Regions from separate parts of the Homo sapiens genome. Here regions 2, 3 and 4 are each linked to region 1. Evidence: promoter capture Hi-C in 16 types of primary human blood cells and fetal thymus (Javierre and others, 2016). All regions are on one chromosome and are shown on one strand. The core of a region is centred on a gene start or on the middle of the fragment in contact, and the rest is flanking DNA. Distances in the headings are between cores, read along the strand shown. Region 1 holds the start of H3-3A-DT (H3-3A divergent transcript). Region 2 overlaps LBR (lamin B receptor). Region 3 has its middle 9.0 kb from the start of LBR. Region 4 overlaps ENAH (ENAH actin regulator).

The links. The method cuts DNA at HindIII sites, captures the fragments that hold promoters and counts their contacts. A CHiCAGO score of 5 or more calls a contact.
Region 2: a contact is called between a fragment that was not itself captured here and the fragment with the promoter of H3-3A-DT in region 1, in 4 of 17 cell types (neutrophils, total CD8 T cells, fetal thymus and 1 more). The highest score is 10.5, in neutrophils.
Region 3: a contact is called between a fragment that was not itself captured here and the fragment with the promoter of H3-3A-DT in region 1, in 10 of 17 cell types (total CD8 T cells, fetal thymus, activated CD4 T cells and 7 more). The highest score is 10.2, in total CD8 T cells.
Region 4: a contact is called between a fragment that was not itself captured here and the fragment with the promoter of H3-3A-DT in region 1, in 9 of 17 cell types (non-activated CD4 T cells, naive B cells, neutrophils and 6 more). The highest score is 7.7, in non-activated CD4 T cells.

Annotation. Positions count from the first base shown.
Region 1 is chr1:226,060,505-226,064,087 of GRCh38, reverse strand. H3-3A-DT (H3-3A divergent transcript) reads left to right here and starts at 1,593. Exons shown (of 2, transcript NR_185887.1): 1 at 1,593-3,098. It overlaps H3-3A (H3.3 histone A), which reads right to left and starts at 1,372. Exons shown (of 4, transcript NM_002107.7): 1 at 1,277-1,372. RefSeq lists silencers at 964-1,033, 1,652-1,817, 1,404-2,253. The HindIII fragment of the contact is 4,693 bases long and covers 820-3,583 here.
Region 2 is chr1:225,417,004-225,420,586 of GRCh38, reverse strand. LBR (lamin B receptor) reads left to right here. Exons shown (of 14, transcript NM_002296.4): 4 at 789-872; 5 at 1,135-1,324; 6 at 2,407-2,603. Among named protein-coding and RNA genes, the nearest start is that of LBR, 9.2 kb to the left of the region's middle. The HindIII fragment of the contact is 3,091 bases long and covers 23-3,113 here.
Region 3 is chr1:225,435,216-225,438,798 of GRCh38, reverse strand. No RefSeq gene overlaps it. Among named protein-coding and RNA genes, the nearest start is that of LBR, 9.0 kb to the right of the region's middle. RefSeq lists enhancers at 2,590-2,749, 2,820-2,869. The HindIII fragment of the contact is 6,515 bases long and covers 1-3,583 here.
Region 4 is chr1:225,489,444-225,493,026 of GRCh38, reverse strand. It overlaps ENAH (ENAH actin regulator), which reads left to right. Exons shown (of 14, transcript NM_018212.6): 14 at 1-3,583. Among named protein-coding and RNA genes, the nearest start is that of LINC02765, 23 kb to the right of the region's middle. The HindIII fragment of the contact is 2,064 bases long and covers 987-3,050 here.

The sequences.
Region 1 (3,583 bases), core at 344-2,843:
ACAAACGGCAAAACAAAAATACCTCGAACGGCCTTTGATCCAATTTATTTAATTAAAGCAGTAATTAGAAATGTCTGTAAACATTCCATCCACAAACAAGTCAAAAGAAAAAAGGCACAAACCACTGGAAGGTCGAGTCAAATTACAGCAAAAAAAAGGTCTTACTCCCCCCCACTTTGGCTGCCCCCCCTTCGTCTGACTGTTGATGGATTGCTGTAAATATCTGAAAATATTCTTGGTTTTGCATCTTTACAGTTATGTTGACAAAAAGGCGTCTCGAAAAAACAAGAGAGGAACAACAGCTACCACCAGCGAGCATTCTACAAAGCCCCGTCCTCGCGTCCAGTCCTCACAGGCTTCGCAGTGAAATAAAAAGTGCCCCGCACCCAGGCTTTAATTAACGCACGACATCCGCCGACCGGTCCACCCCAAGCACCACATAAACTTTTGGTTTTGCCTCCTTCGGGTCCCTCGGCACAGGGTCCCCCAACCTGCCCGCCTCGCTCCCAGCGCCTCGAGCAGGAACCAACTCGGCTCCCCGACCAGAACAAAATGGAAACAATCGCAAAACGTATCCGATTCCGTTCCAAAGAGACAAAACACCAAATCGCTCGAAAATACCCCTATCCCCTGCCACGTGCCGCCCTCCAAAATGCAAAAGTTTTTTTTGCATTTCAAATGCATCAAGTTTCCGCCTCTCCAAAAAAGGGAAAAAAACGTCCCTCTTTTAAAAATTCTTGCTTTTTTGAAATGGGGAAGAGAGAAACGGGGGAAAAAATATGGTCGGTGACCAGAGAAGAGAGACAAGATGGTGAAGCTTAGCAACAACTGTGGGGAGGCAGCAAAAAGCGAGTTACCCCAGGGTGCGAAGCGGCGGCGATTTCCACCCCTTTCCCGCTCGAAAACTGGGGGCTGGGGCCCGGGGGCGGTAGTTAAGAGGCCCGCGCGGGTCATGGTGAAGGTTTGGGGTCCGGGGAAGGGGCGGCGGGCGGGATTTCACCGAAGAAAGAGGAGCCAGGGGCGCGGGGAGGAGGAGGGAGAGCAGGCTCGGCGCCGCGGCGGTTGCTGCTGTTGGGCTGAGGCGGCGAGAGACGGGGGAGCCGCCGCCGCCAGAGGGAACAGGGAAACTCGCTCCTCACCTCCATTTCTGGGCCAAAAAGTTTGTGGGCTAAGCCGGAGGGGCTATGGGTCCCCTCCCGGCACCGCCAGGGCCCGGCTCGGGGCTGACGGCAAGCGGGGCTCGGTTCCGGGGAAGCGGGCAGACGGGGAAACTTACCCCCCTTCTCCTTCGGCTGGAGCTCGGCGAGCGAGAGGCGGCGCTGGCGTTGGAGAGCGACGGCGGCGCGGCGGCGGCTGCGAACACAATTGAAAGATGGCTGACACCGAGGCTATCCCCCAACACACGCCGCCCCGCCCCCGCGCCGCGCGCCAGCCAATCACACACAATGGAGGGAAGGCTCGGCCCCGCCCCCATAGCTCCTCTCGCGCCCCGCCCCCGCCCTTCCCCCCGCGCGCCCGTTCGCTGGCGCGCGCTCGCCCCTCCCCCGCGCGCCGCCCGCTCCCTCCTCCAGGCCGCCTCGCGCCGTGTGTGTACAAACACAAAAGACACGCTGAGGGGCCGCCGGCTCCCGCCGAGACTGCCGCCCGCACCCGGCCAGCCCCCGCCCCCGGCCCTGCACTCCCATCCCGCTCCGTGTGCGCACGGCGTCGAACCCCCGAAGCCCGGGTTTGGGGCGCCCGGAGGGAAGTGGGGGGAGGGGAAGGCGGGCGGAGGCGCGGCGGGTGAACGCCCGGCCTGCGGGCGTCTCGGGCCGCGGCGGGGAGGGGAGGGAGGGGCTGCCCCCGCGCGGGCCCCGGCGCGCGCCCCCGAGGAGACCCGGGCGGCAGTGGGGGAGGAGGACGCGGTCGGCCGGGTCGCCGCGCCCCATTGGAAAACGCTCCCCAGCAGGAAGCTGGCAAATAGGAATCCAGCGTCCCGCGCCCGCTGTCGGACCTGGCCGCTGCGGCAGCGGGAGGGGCGGACCGACGGCCTCCTTCCCGCCTGCGCGCTCGGCCAAGTGCGGCCGGGTCCTGCGGGACCGGCCCGAGTCCGCCGTAGACAACTTGATCCGCTAAGACTCCTGGGCCGGCCGCCTGCGTGCAGGGCAGCCCCTCGCCGGTGTTGGCCTCCGGGATCAGGGGACGGGGCTCGCTCTCCTCCCGGGCCCGGGCCCCCGACGCAAGATGGCTGTGTCGCGTCGGCCTCTAAACAATGTGTGGAGCGCGCAGCTCCTGCACCAGGGCCTGGTGGCTTGTCCTGCCCGCCCGTGGGGGCCGTGTGATCTGTTTTCGGTAGGATTGCTTTGGAAAGGAATTGCCGAATATAGATAGTCAAATGTCCGCAGCTTCTGCATAGTTTAGAAGAGGCTGAAAACGGCAGAAAGAAGGCAAACGTGGTTTGGGAATTAGTACATATACCTGTTTTCCAATTCTCAGTAGCATAGGAAACGGACTTTTCATGGCCCAAGTTATCCTCACGACTTGTCAGTTGATTGGCTTTGGAACCTCTGAACCGTCCCTAGATGGTATTGACGCTTCACAACTGTGTGTAAAGGTTTTCAATGGAAGGGTCATGCAAATATCCCGTAGGGTAGTGAAGGAGGAAAATTTCATAAATGAAGGGCAGTAATTATTTGTAATCTGAAGATCTCACAAAGCGGCTTAGTGATAAACATTATCCCGAAACAGATACATGGAAATCAGATACGAGGGAAGAAATGGATTTGTCCAAGGTCACTTAAGTGAGGAAGAGACCTAGGAGAAACAAACAGACAAAAATCCAGGCCTCCCGTTTCATTATTATTTCATGAATGTTAAGTGTCCATGGTTGCTGTGCAGAACACATGCAATCTCTAATCCTATCCTAAAAGCACATATGCAATCAGCTTGGACCGAGCTGCCAGCAAAGAATTTCCTATAATTCAAGCCAAGATGAGTTATTTTGCTTGTTTTTTGTTTTGTTTTCAGGAAACCGAAATATTTATTGTTGGATTTATCCAGGAAGGCTGTTCTGCATTAGTTAAATGCATCATATCTTCAAGAAATGTTAAATGACATGGGTAATGTTTTCTTTGTATGCTGGATTTTTCAATAGCTTCTACTTCTTGGCTTTAAAAAATATTTCTAACCAAGGGTCAGACCATTTTAGGTAGAGTAATTATGATCTTAGATGATTTGAACTAACTCAGCTGTCTGTCCATTTGTGAAATGGGAATAATAATATTTATCTCTATGAAGTTAGGCCACAAATTCTTTCTAGTAGGTTCAAGTATTTAAGCACCTGGAGAGGTGACTGGTTACCCTCCTAGTGGCTTCAGGAAGTTTTCTCACTGAATGAATATTTATTGAGTGCCAACTCTGCTCAGCACAATTCAGGGGTGCTGGGAATGCAGCAGTGAATAACACAAGCAGTGTTCCTGCCCTCATGGGGCTTATGATCTCTGGAAGCACTGCTTTGCACAGGGAAGTAGCACCAGGAGGGGGTAAAGAAAGAGGGACTTTGGAGCCCCAAGATTGGCAAAAACTATAGCTAATGAGAGAGGTG
Region 2 (3,583 bases), core at 319-2,818, 640 kb after region 1:
TGTCACAAGAACCACAGAAGCTTTGCCTCTTACCTGGTAGTGCCTTGGGCCTACTGTGTGTTGCATAAGTACCCACTATTTCTTAGTTTTCCATTATGGGCTATTTTGGAGCAGTGAATGTCTTTTTGAATGTCTTTTGTTTTTTATCCAGTTAATGAACTAATTTACCAATTTTTACTTTCTCTGCCTTTCATAGTAAATACCCCTAAAATCTATCAATGAAATTATGACATTCAGTCTGATTACGTGAAAGATCAAAGTTGTTTTTTTTTTTTTTGAGGCGGAGTTTCATTCTTGTTGCCCAGGCTGGAGTGCAATGGCGCGGTCTTGGCTCAATGCAACCTCCGTCTCCGGGTTCAAGAGATTTTCCTGCCTCAGCTTCCGAAGTAGCTGGAATTACAGGTGCCCGCTACCGTGCGTGGCTAATTTTTTTGTATTTTTAGTAGAGACAGGGTTTCACCATGTTGGCCAGGCTGGTCTTGAACTCCTGACCTCAGGTGATCCACCCGCCTTGGCCTCCCAAAGTGCTGGGATTACAGGTGTGAGCCACCGTGCCTGGCCAGATGAAAGATTTTATGTAGAAATCTATCCAATATTTCAGAGACTGGGAAATTCTAGTCAGTTTTATTCCTTTTCATTTTTAACAAAATGAGGGTTAAATTCGTCAGAATTAAGGCTGTGAAAAATCTGTTTTATTGCTTGATTCCAAAACAGTAAGTTTTTACCATCATGTTTCTTTTTAATAAGTTACAGTTCTTTTGATTAAATGTTTATATTCTTCAATTTAGAAGCCATTTGGAAATAGCATCAGCAGATATAATGGGGAGCCTGAGCATATTGAGAGAAATGACGCACCTCATAAAAATACACAGGTGGGAAAGTGTTCCCTTTCATCTTGGTTGTTTTTTTTTTTCTTTTTTTTGGTTAAAAGTGACTCTCCCTTGAGAAGCACATTGAAAATTGTAATATTTTATAACCTGTTCTAAAATTCTGTCCTTAAATTAAGACTGAATATAATTTCACAAATTTATTCTTACTAGTGTATAGCTGTATTGAGATGCTGAAATAGTTAATGCAGTAGCATTAATGGTAATTGTTCACTGCAGATATTTAATTTTTAAATTTTTCATTTAGGAAAAATTCAGTTTGTCACAAGAAAGCAGTTACATAGCAACACAGTATAGCCTTCGTCCAAGAAGAGAAGAAGTCAAATTAAAAGAAATAGATTCTAAGGAAGAAAAATACGTTGCAAAAGAACTGGCAGTGAGAACCTTTGAAGTGACCCCCATCCGGGCAAAGGACTTGGAGTTTGGAGGAGTACCTGGTAGGCCTCAGAGCTGGGCCCAGAGAGGGCAGGTGGGGTGAGCTAGGGGTGGTTGCCACAAGGTGAACTGGAAAGGCCTCTCTGAAGACATCTGAGGCAGGCAAGGTAATGAGCCTGGTGGGAACCTGTGGAAGAGCCTTCCAGAGAAGGAACAGTGGGTGCAAAGGCTTGAGGTGGGAGCATTTTGAGGGATTATGGAGTAGAAAGGATGCCATTGTAGCTGTGTTTAAAACTTTTAGCAGTCTGTTCAGAGGTTTTGAGCACAGAAGTACAAAGAAGTGATAAAGGAAGGTTGATCTGGGAGTTTGTATAGCATAGATGGTTACTTATCAGGGACAGAGAGCTCTGCTAATAGTCAGACCTGAGGCGGCAGGGGCCAGCAGTGGGCCTCAGCTGCCTGCATAAAATGGGATCCCGGAGGCTGCCCTACCTGCTAGGCGGGTTGATTGTGAGGGTCAAAGATCTGAAGTGTGCAGAGTTTTGGAGTTACTAAGTGGGTGGAACTGATGAAATTTTATGAGCTAGTAAAAGAAAAGACTTCTTGTCTAAATGGCTCAAAATCCTGCATGGCTTAATTGCTTTGTATTTTGTTATAACCTTTGGCTAGCTGGCCTGTTACAGATGCTGTCCAGCATCACTTAAAATCTGCACACATTACATGAACGTGACACTATTTTAATTGTTAGAAACTGAGGAATATAAAGTTTTTTGTTAAGATTAGGCTGATAATTTTTAGATGTTCTGATCTTCAGTTTGCTGGAGTTTCAACACATTCGCTCCTTAGTGGTTGGAGGTCAAATGTTTTAGAGCTTGGTTTCTGAGGTGGGTGTAGCTATTCAATGTTGGACCTCTTTCTTTTTTTTTTTATTTTTATTTATTTATTTTTTTTACTACTTTGATGCCCATGGTTGCCAGGCCACCAGAGGTGACAGGTAGAGATGGGAGTTTTTGATGGTACATTAGAAATTGGTTTCAGACAGTTAGCCAGATAACGAGTTCTGATCTTAACAAATCTAACATGATTCTTAAATAAATAAACCAGATTGAAATTTGAGCCTCGAATGTTCATGAATTGTTTGCAGGTGTGTTTCTCATCATGTTTGGCCTGCCTGTGTTCCTCTTCCTGTTGCTGTTGATGTGTAAACAGAAAGATCCCAGTCTTCTGAATTTCCCTCCTCCTTTGCCAGCTTTGTATGAGTTATGGGAAACCAGAGTATTTGGGGTCTACCTCCTGTGGTTTTTGATTCAAGTCCTGTTCTACCTACTGCCAATTGGAAAGGTACGTTTATGGTAATTCTGTTTTGTTTTAATAAGATGAGGTCTCACTATATTGTCCAGGCGGGTCTCCAATTTCTGGGATCAAGTGATCCTCTTGCCGCAGCCTCCTGAGTCGCTGGGACCACAGGCCTGTGCCATGCTGCCCAGCCTTAGAGTAGTTTAAAGGTTAAAGGCTGTTGTTGGTCATAATTCCCAAAACTTAGTTCATGAAGCCATTTCTCTTGTGCTGTCTGTATAACACTTGCTTATTAGGAGGAACTTAAAAAAAAATCTGATTGAGATTTCTTGTGTAACTTTTCAAACCAAATAGAAAAGAATAGGCTATTTTGCAAAGTAGCCGACTCTCAGTGGAGGTTGCTATGGAAAAAAAATTCACTCTTAGTATGTGTCATTTCAGATGCAGCATTTTAAATGATTAATTGATAGGCTACTGGGCTCGATGGACTTTAGTCTACATCTTTTACTTTAAAAAAGTATGAAAAGTTTCTAATTTTCATCTCTTTCAGAAGCTTGTTGTCAAGAACATTTTACGTTGTTTTCAGATTCCTGCAATATCTTTAAAATTTGTCTCTCCATTGCTAAGTGTAGTTTTTTCTTCTTTCAGTAGAATCCTTTACTTGGATATATTTAAAGAAACATGAGATTCCCTAAGTAATAAATAATTTATTTAAAGATCTTATTCTTAGGGCTTTGCAAGTTTGCCAACTGTCTGTAAACCAAAGGATCGGTTTTACTGGTGAATGCCAGTGATAGGAGGGTAGAGCTGCAGGCTTAATACTGTGGAGTGAGACCATAACTTTAGTGGCTCTAGCAAGGATTTTTGTGATAAAGACCTTCAGTCATTTCTACAGTAAGCCTCTACAGTTAAATTCAGATTCATTTAGGGTAAGGTGATTTCAGAGTATCAAGGAAAGCAGTTTTGGTGTTTAAAGTCATATATGTATATACTCATAGACTAAAGTGACTAAAAGCATATATATT
Region 3 (3,583 bases), core at 519-3,018, 630 kb after region 1:
GCATGCTCCACCACGCCTGGCTAATTTCTGTATTTTTAGTAGAGACGGGGTTTCACCATGTTGGCCAGGCCGCTCTCAAACTCCTGACCTCAGGTGATCCACCTACCTTGGCCTCCCAAAGTGCTGGGATTAGGGCGTGAGCCACCACACCCGGCCTGATCAAGTCTTTATAGTCCAAGGATAGCACTTAGTTGAGAAGAGGGCTGAGAGGAGCCTGGGTGGAGTTTTGTTAAGGAGAGAATTTTTGTAAGTAGTATTTATCGTTGGTTTGAGTAGGTATTAATGAGCAAAGTATTTTCAAAGTAACTGACAGGAATTTATGTTGTCCTTTTGAGTGTAATAAAGAGGACTAATTATTAATGGGAATCCCTAATCTGACTTTATGATTTGAAAACCTTAAGAAGGGAGCGATATCCTGTTAAATTCATGTTCAGTGCTGAAGAATTTTTTCCAGAAGCTCATACATTATCCAGCAGGCACAAGGACAGCTGAAGTATGTTTAAGGATATGGCACTTCTTTTTAAAAATGAACACAAAGGGATCTGACTAGCCTGCCTTGGCCAGGAGGAGGAGCCCCCTTCTGGCAGGCCTAGCAAAGGAGATGTGGGAACTGGGCATCTTTCCTTCTGGTCAGGATGGGAGTTCTGGCCTTGACTTACGGAGCAATAGGAGTTCTCTATAGGACCAGGAAGATGAATACACAAAACATCAGTAAAAGTAAAATAGAAAAAAGAAGTAGAACTTTTTTTTAAAAAGGGAGGAACTATATATTTGCAGAAATGACATTTTTGAATAACAGAATAACACAGACCAGGTAATTTATAATGAACAGCACTAAATGCCTGCCTCTGGTGAGGGCCTTCTTGCTGTGTCACTCCATGGCCAGAAGGTGGAAGGGCCAAGAGATGAAAGGGGGCTGACCCTGCCCTTTTATAATGGCAGTAATGCCGCCCATGAGGGTGCAGCCCTCATGGCCTGATCACCTCTTAAAGGTCCCACCTCTCAACATTGTTACGATGCCAACTAAATTTCAAATGAATTTTGGCGAAGACAAACATTCAAACCATAGGACTAAGTAAATAAAAACCATATCTGTATAGTCAAATAGGATTAAAGTAGACCTAAAAATGGCATTGTGTTTGGCAATATGACTTACCGTGGAGAATGACTGGGAACTGTCAATTCAGAGTAACATGACTTGCTTTGCTACAGCAGTGAAATTTCTGGGATCCTAGCCTCTTGTATCTAAAGTAAGCAAGCAAAATATCATCAGCAACTTAGTATGAATATATAGTTTTTTTCTGCTGAAATACTCATGCCAATTAATACTTACAGTTGTTGAATAACTATCAAGCCAACTCTGTACAACTTTCAAATAAATCTACGTTGCAATTATATGTCATCTGTTTAAAAGGATAAAATATTGATATTTTTAGTCATTTATGTAGGTGTGTGTTATGACTAAAATGATTCAATACACTACTGTGCTCCAAATAGGTTTTATGTTGTACCTCTTGCTCAAGTAAAATGAAAAAATTTAAAACAATTATGCAAATTTGGTTTTAAATATTCATCTCAAATATTTTATATTTTATTCCCCTTAAATGTGTTTTAAACAGATTTAATCACATTGGGTACTGTACTAAGTGTACTACAAAGATTACAGTGATCCTGCCCTTGATATCATACCTACAAGTGAATATTCTAAGATAGTCCCTGGAAAGGAAGACATAAAGACAGTCCTACAGAATCCAGAATAGGTATCAGAATTAAAATAGACCAGCCATGGAAGAAAGAATCAAAGGGTGAGAGACAAGGACAAGTTCACATGCATGGTGCTCTTTGAGAGAGCAGGGATGAGTGTTCTTTGCTCCAGAAATGTAGACAAAACGCCCACAAGCTATATTCTCATTAGCCTGGGATGTCTCCAGCTGACATTGACAGTGGGATCATGTAATATGAATTGTGTGTGGCGACCGGAAGTCAATGGCTAAGGGAGCTAAGAGGCTGCTTGGGGACCCTAATGGGTTTGGAGGGTAGAAAGAACATATGCTTTGGAATCCAGAGAACTGGGTTAGAATTTCTTTTCCAGCCCCAATTTGGTGGGTGCGCTGTATTGCAACTTTGCTGACCTGAGTCTCAGTTTCCTCGTCCTGAAAGAGGGGGTGATGCCTATTTTGTTGAGTTGATTTGAGCCATAAATAAGGTAAGGACTGGTAAGTGACACAGAACAGGGCCTCATTAGAAATGAGTCCCCTTCCCTCTCCTTCTCTTTCTCCATTGTTCTGATGCCAACTGTAGTTGCTACACACTTTTCCTAAAGGGTATGGTGTAGTTTTGTTGATAGAGTGGGAGCAATTGCTGAACAGACATGAAGTGCTAAACATTAACACTGATGGGCTGAGCCTTATCTTGTCCAGAAGGGAAGCAACATGGTAATTACATGTTACCTAGATGGTACTTTCTGTTCCACAATTGAGCCCCCGTCTGCCTCTGAATGTAGACTTTGGGTGGGAGGTGGGGAAGAAGGCTGCCCTCTGGGACTCGCAGTTTTAGCAACCATGCCAAAACAAGCCATGCACCTGTGTTCCCTGTAGGTTTTAAAAAGAAACATTTAGTTACATATTCTGAATTAAGAGAGATGGTGGCAACCCAGGTGGAGAAAAGGGTATTTAAGCACAGCAGAGTCCCCACCATGGGGCTGTGAGCCTGTGGCAGACAGCAAGAGAGACACCGAAGATAGGCTTCCGCACCTCTCCAGCCGGTGGGAACAGTCAGTGCCAGCGGAGGCTTTATCTCTTCTTGCCTCAGTCCAGCCTGTGGCAGCTCAGTAACTGGAACAAGAGCGTTTACTACCTTCTGACCTTTAGGAGAACATATATGACACAGTTTCATGATGAACACATTCATTTACTTAATGGGGAGAGATACAAGGAGAAATTAAATATACTTCCTGCCTGGGAGGAGTGCAGATGCCCATAACATGGGAAGGCAGTGACAGATGTATGTGGGGACTGCCCTAGGAAGTTTTGCTGGGGATGAGCAAGAACAGGCCACTCTCAAAAGAAGGGGGAGGCATTCCAAGCAACAAGAGAGGAAAAGGCTTATCTGAGGACTCATCAGAAATTTGGTAGAACTGAGGGTGGAGGGGGTGGGAAAGAGAAGGCAGGTGCTGGAAAGAGAAGAGGATGTTGAGCCTACCAGAAATCCATTAGGGTGAGTTTTTGAAGGCCTTGTCTGTGTCATGTTACTAAGTTTGATTTTTTTTTCCTGCAGATAAATATTTCAGGACTCTCTACCTATCCAAACGCATTTTAGGCGAATTTTAAAAAACAGTTATTAATTAGCAAACATTAAAATAAATGTGAATAATAATCACTTCCTGAACAGTCCAAGGACCTTTAAGTTTTAAGATTAATCCAGCGGGTTAGATTTTTCAGTTAGAGTAGCATGGAAGAAAAGACGAAGTTACGTCTTTTATGTTGAAGTGTGCACTACAGGATGATTCAAAGGATTTAGGCGGTTAGAGAAAAAACAACAAACGCATTAAAACATTATTGACACATCTGCTACTGAAAACACT
Region 4 (3,583 bases), core at 769-3,268, 570 kb after region 1:
TAAATAAATGGAGTTCTAGGATAAATTATTTGTGGAATACTAATGGTCAAGTCACATAAGAGTAAAATCTTTTGGTGAGGAGACACATTTGACAACTGCTAAAGAATTAACTAAATTTGTCTTTCTAAATAGTTTTCTTTATAAAGTAACAGAAACATTGTAAAAGGATAAATGACTGTCATAATGACTTAGGATGTTGTAAGAATGTCTGCCACATTTATTGGTTATTTCTGTTGAAATCTGAAGGAATCGATACATCTGAAAATTGAGAAAGGGAAATAGGACTGTCCCCGTTACAGATACTCTGTGATGCACACAACCTTCTAAACGGAAGTGTTAGTATCATTTAAAGCACATAGTAGGCCTTGAGTATTTGCAGATTAACATGCAGAAAAAATCAAAGATGAAGCCCCAATTAAGTGTTTGAACCAAAGAATCACAGTCACTGAGCTGCACCCCCGTTCTGTGAAGCATGTTAAATACTCATAAAGAGCAGAGAGCAGGGCCCGTAGACGCTTCTGGTGTAGGACACAGGAATTCTAGGCAGAGGGAGAAAATTAGGGGCCCCAGTTGGTGGCTGAGAGTAAAAAGAATATACCATTTGAGTAGTGCTGTTCTTTTTCCTCAGTTTTTAAAGACATATAATTCCTAGTAGTTAGGACATCTAAATAGCTCGGTAAACTGGTCAGAGGCGGGAGGATTGCTTGAGGCCAGAAGTTTTGAGATCAGCCTGGGTAACAGGGAGACTCATTTCTACAAAAAAATTTAAAAATTTAGGCCAGGCATGGTGGTGCACACCTGTAATCCCAGCTACTCAGGAGACTGAAGCGGGAGGATCACCTGAGCCCAGGGAGGACGCGGCTGCAGTGAGCCGTTATCATGCCACTGTACTCCAGCCTGGGTGACAGAGCGAGAACCTGTCTCTAAAAAAAAAAAAAAAAAATTCTAAGAGAATATAGCTTTTCATAGAAATTATTAGAAAAGCTTACATATTTCATTAGAGAGCCCAGTTTGTTAGACTACATTTATTCCGTAAAAGTTCTATATACAAATGACAACCCATAGTTTATCATGTAAATCTGATTTAACTGTTCCCTTCAATTCCAAGAAAGATTTCTTCAGCAGTAGATGACAATTCTAAAAGCATAAAGAAATAACTAATAAAGGAGATGGATGATGTTATAGGTTGGTTTGGTTGGGTTTTAGTAAATAGTTATTCTTCTAAGAAGGCTTAGAAAATCGAGAATTGAATAGTTGGTACTTTGAATTCCATAGGAAAAAGCACTCAGAAGAAAAAGTCTACATTGGCTAGTGTTTAGATTGAGAGTTAATTTTCCCATCAAGTCCAAAAGTTTCCATCCAAGTCTATAGAAACTGAGAGAAAAGGTTCTTGGCTTACACTTAAAATACACATTGTTGCAACCATATAAGAGAGATACATTACAGAACGCTTTTAAAAATTTGGTCTCTTAAGCGCCTAACAGTCCATGCTTTAGTCACATCTGTGAAACCTCTTTTCTTTTTTTCTTTTTCTTTTATTTTTTTTTTTAAAGATTAAAGGCATTTTAAAAATAAATGTTTCATGGCCGGGCATGGTGGCTCACGCCTGTAATCCCAGCACTTTGGGAGGCTGAGGTGGGCAGATCACCTGAGGTCAGGAGTTTGAGACCAGCCTGGCCAACATGATGAAACCCCATCTCTACTAAAAATACAAAAAAATTGGCTGGGCATAGTGGTGGGCACCTGTAATCCCAGCTCTTCGGGAGGCTGAGACAGAAGAGTCGCTTGAATCCAGGAGGTGGAGGTTGCAGTGAGCTAAGACCGCGCCACTGTACTCCAGCCTGGGCGACAGAGCGAGATTCCATCTCTAAATAAATAAATGTTTTTCAACGTGTTTTATGTGAGAAATACCAGCTTTTCATTATTACTACCAGTTGATCTCAGGTGTCACTTGGTTGGTTCTGCTGACCGAGGCACTGGGCATTTTAAATATGGAGTTTCCCTCCACCCATTGATCAAGTCTGAGGTTTGTCCATCCTTGGTGGCAGGCTAGCTTAACCATGGATTCACAAACCCCATTTGATTGTCGTAAGTCATAAGGCCACCCCAGTGCCAGTGGTTGGGCATCACAGTGAGTCTGAGGTGATGAATTTGAGTTAGCTGTAGGCTAGTTCCGCAACTCAGCAATAGCCCATGGATGGTTGGTAAAAGACGTTGACTTTGCCACTTAAATTTCCAGGAGAAGAATAGCTTATAGTTTATCTGAGGAAAGTAATTGGGAAGGCTTAGATATTGAGAAGAAAGCCCTGTTAAAATCTAGGTAGCATTTCCTTTCTTCTTTATTACTAGAGGGATGGGAGGTTCAGGCCTGAGTCAGGACTTTACAATTTGGTGTCCTTCCCAGAGGTACTTTGGGCTTGATCATTTTAAGTTTCAATTGCAAAAAAAAATTTTTGACGGAGTGTTGCTCTGTCACTCAGGTTGGAGTGCAGTGGTGCGATCTCGGCTCACTGCAACTTCCCCCCCCTGGGTTCAAAGGGATTTTCCTGCCTCAGCCTCCCAAGTAGCTGGGACTACAGGCGCGTGCCACCATGCCCGACTAATTTTTGTATTTTTAGTAGAGATGGGGTTTCACCATGTTGCCCAGGCTGGTCTTGAACTCCTGAGCTCAGGTGATCTGCCCGCCTCGGCCTTCAATTGCAGAAGTTTTTGAAGGGAGAATATTTGATCCTCACATAAAATGTCCTTGTTTCTGAAAGAAAACATGGTAAAAATTGTTATTGAGTCCATGTCTTTGCCACCTTGTTGGACTTGATTTCCCTTTCTCTGTGTTCCTCCCGCCCTCAGTCTCTCTCAGTCTGTCCTTTTTTGTGTGTGGAGTTGTGGGCAGGTCATTGGACTGGGACTGACTTTACCAGTTTTCAGGCTGTGGGGCTAGTCAGTCATTCTCTCTGAGCCTTCTACCTCTAAAGTTGAGTTCTTTTTTTAAATTCTTTTTGTTTTGTTTTTATTTTTTCCTTGCCACTATACAAGCAAGGATAGATAAAGCTTTTTATTATTATTGTTATTATTATTATTTCGAGACAGTCTCGCTCTGTCATCCAGGCTGGAGTGCAGTGGTGTGATTTCAGCTCACTGCAACCTCTGCCTCCCGGGTTCAAGCGATTCTCCTACCTCAGCCTCCTTAGTAGCTGGGACTACAGGCATGCGCCACCACACCCGGCTAATTTTTGTATTTTTAGTAGAGACAGGGTTTCACCGTATTGGCCAGGCTGGTCTCGAACTCCTGACCTCAGGTGATCCACCCACCTTGGCCTCCCAAAGTGTTGGGATTACAGGCATAAGCGACCGTGCCCATCCCCGATAAAGTTGAGTTCTGAATTTCCTCTTTCACTGTATTCTCGGCAGCTACTGGTTGGTTTATTCTTTTTTTTTAATCTTTTTTGGTTTATTCTTCTTTTGATCTTTGAAGAGAAGGAGAAAAAAGATCTGAGTTTGGCTCTCCCATCTTAAGTGCAGCTTTTAGTTGTTTTATAGTCATAGACGCTATTGCACTGGACAGCATGCATCCTGGATGTAAACA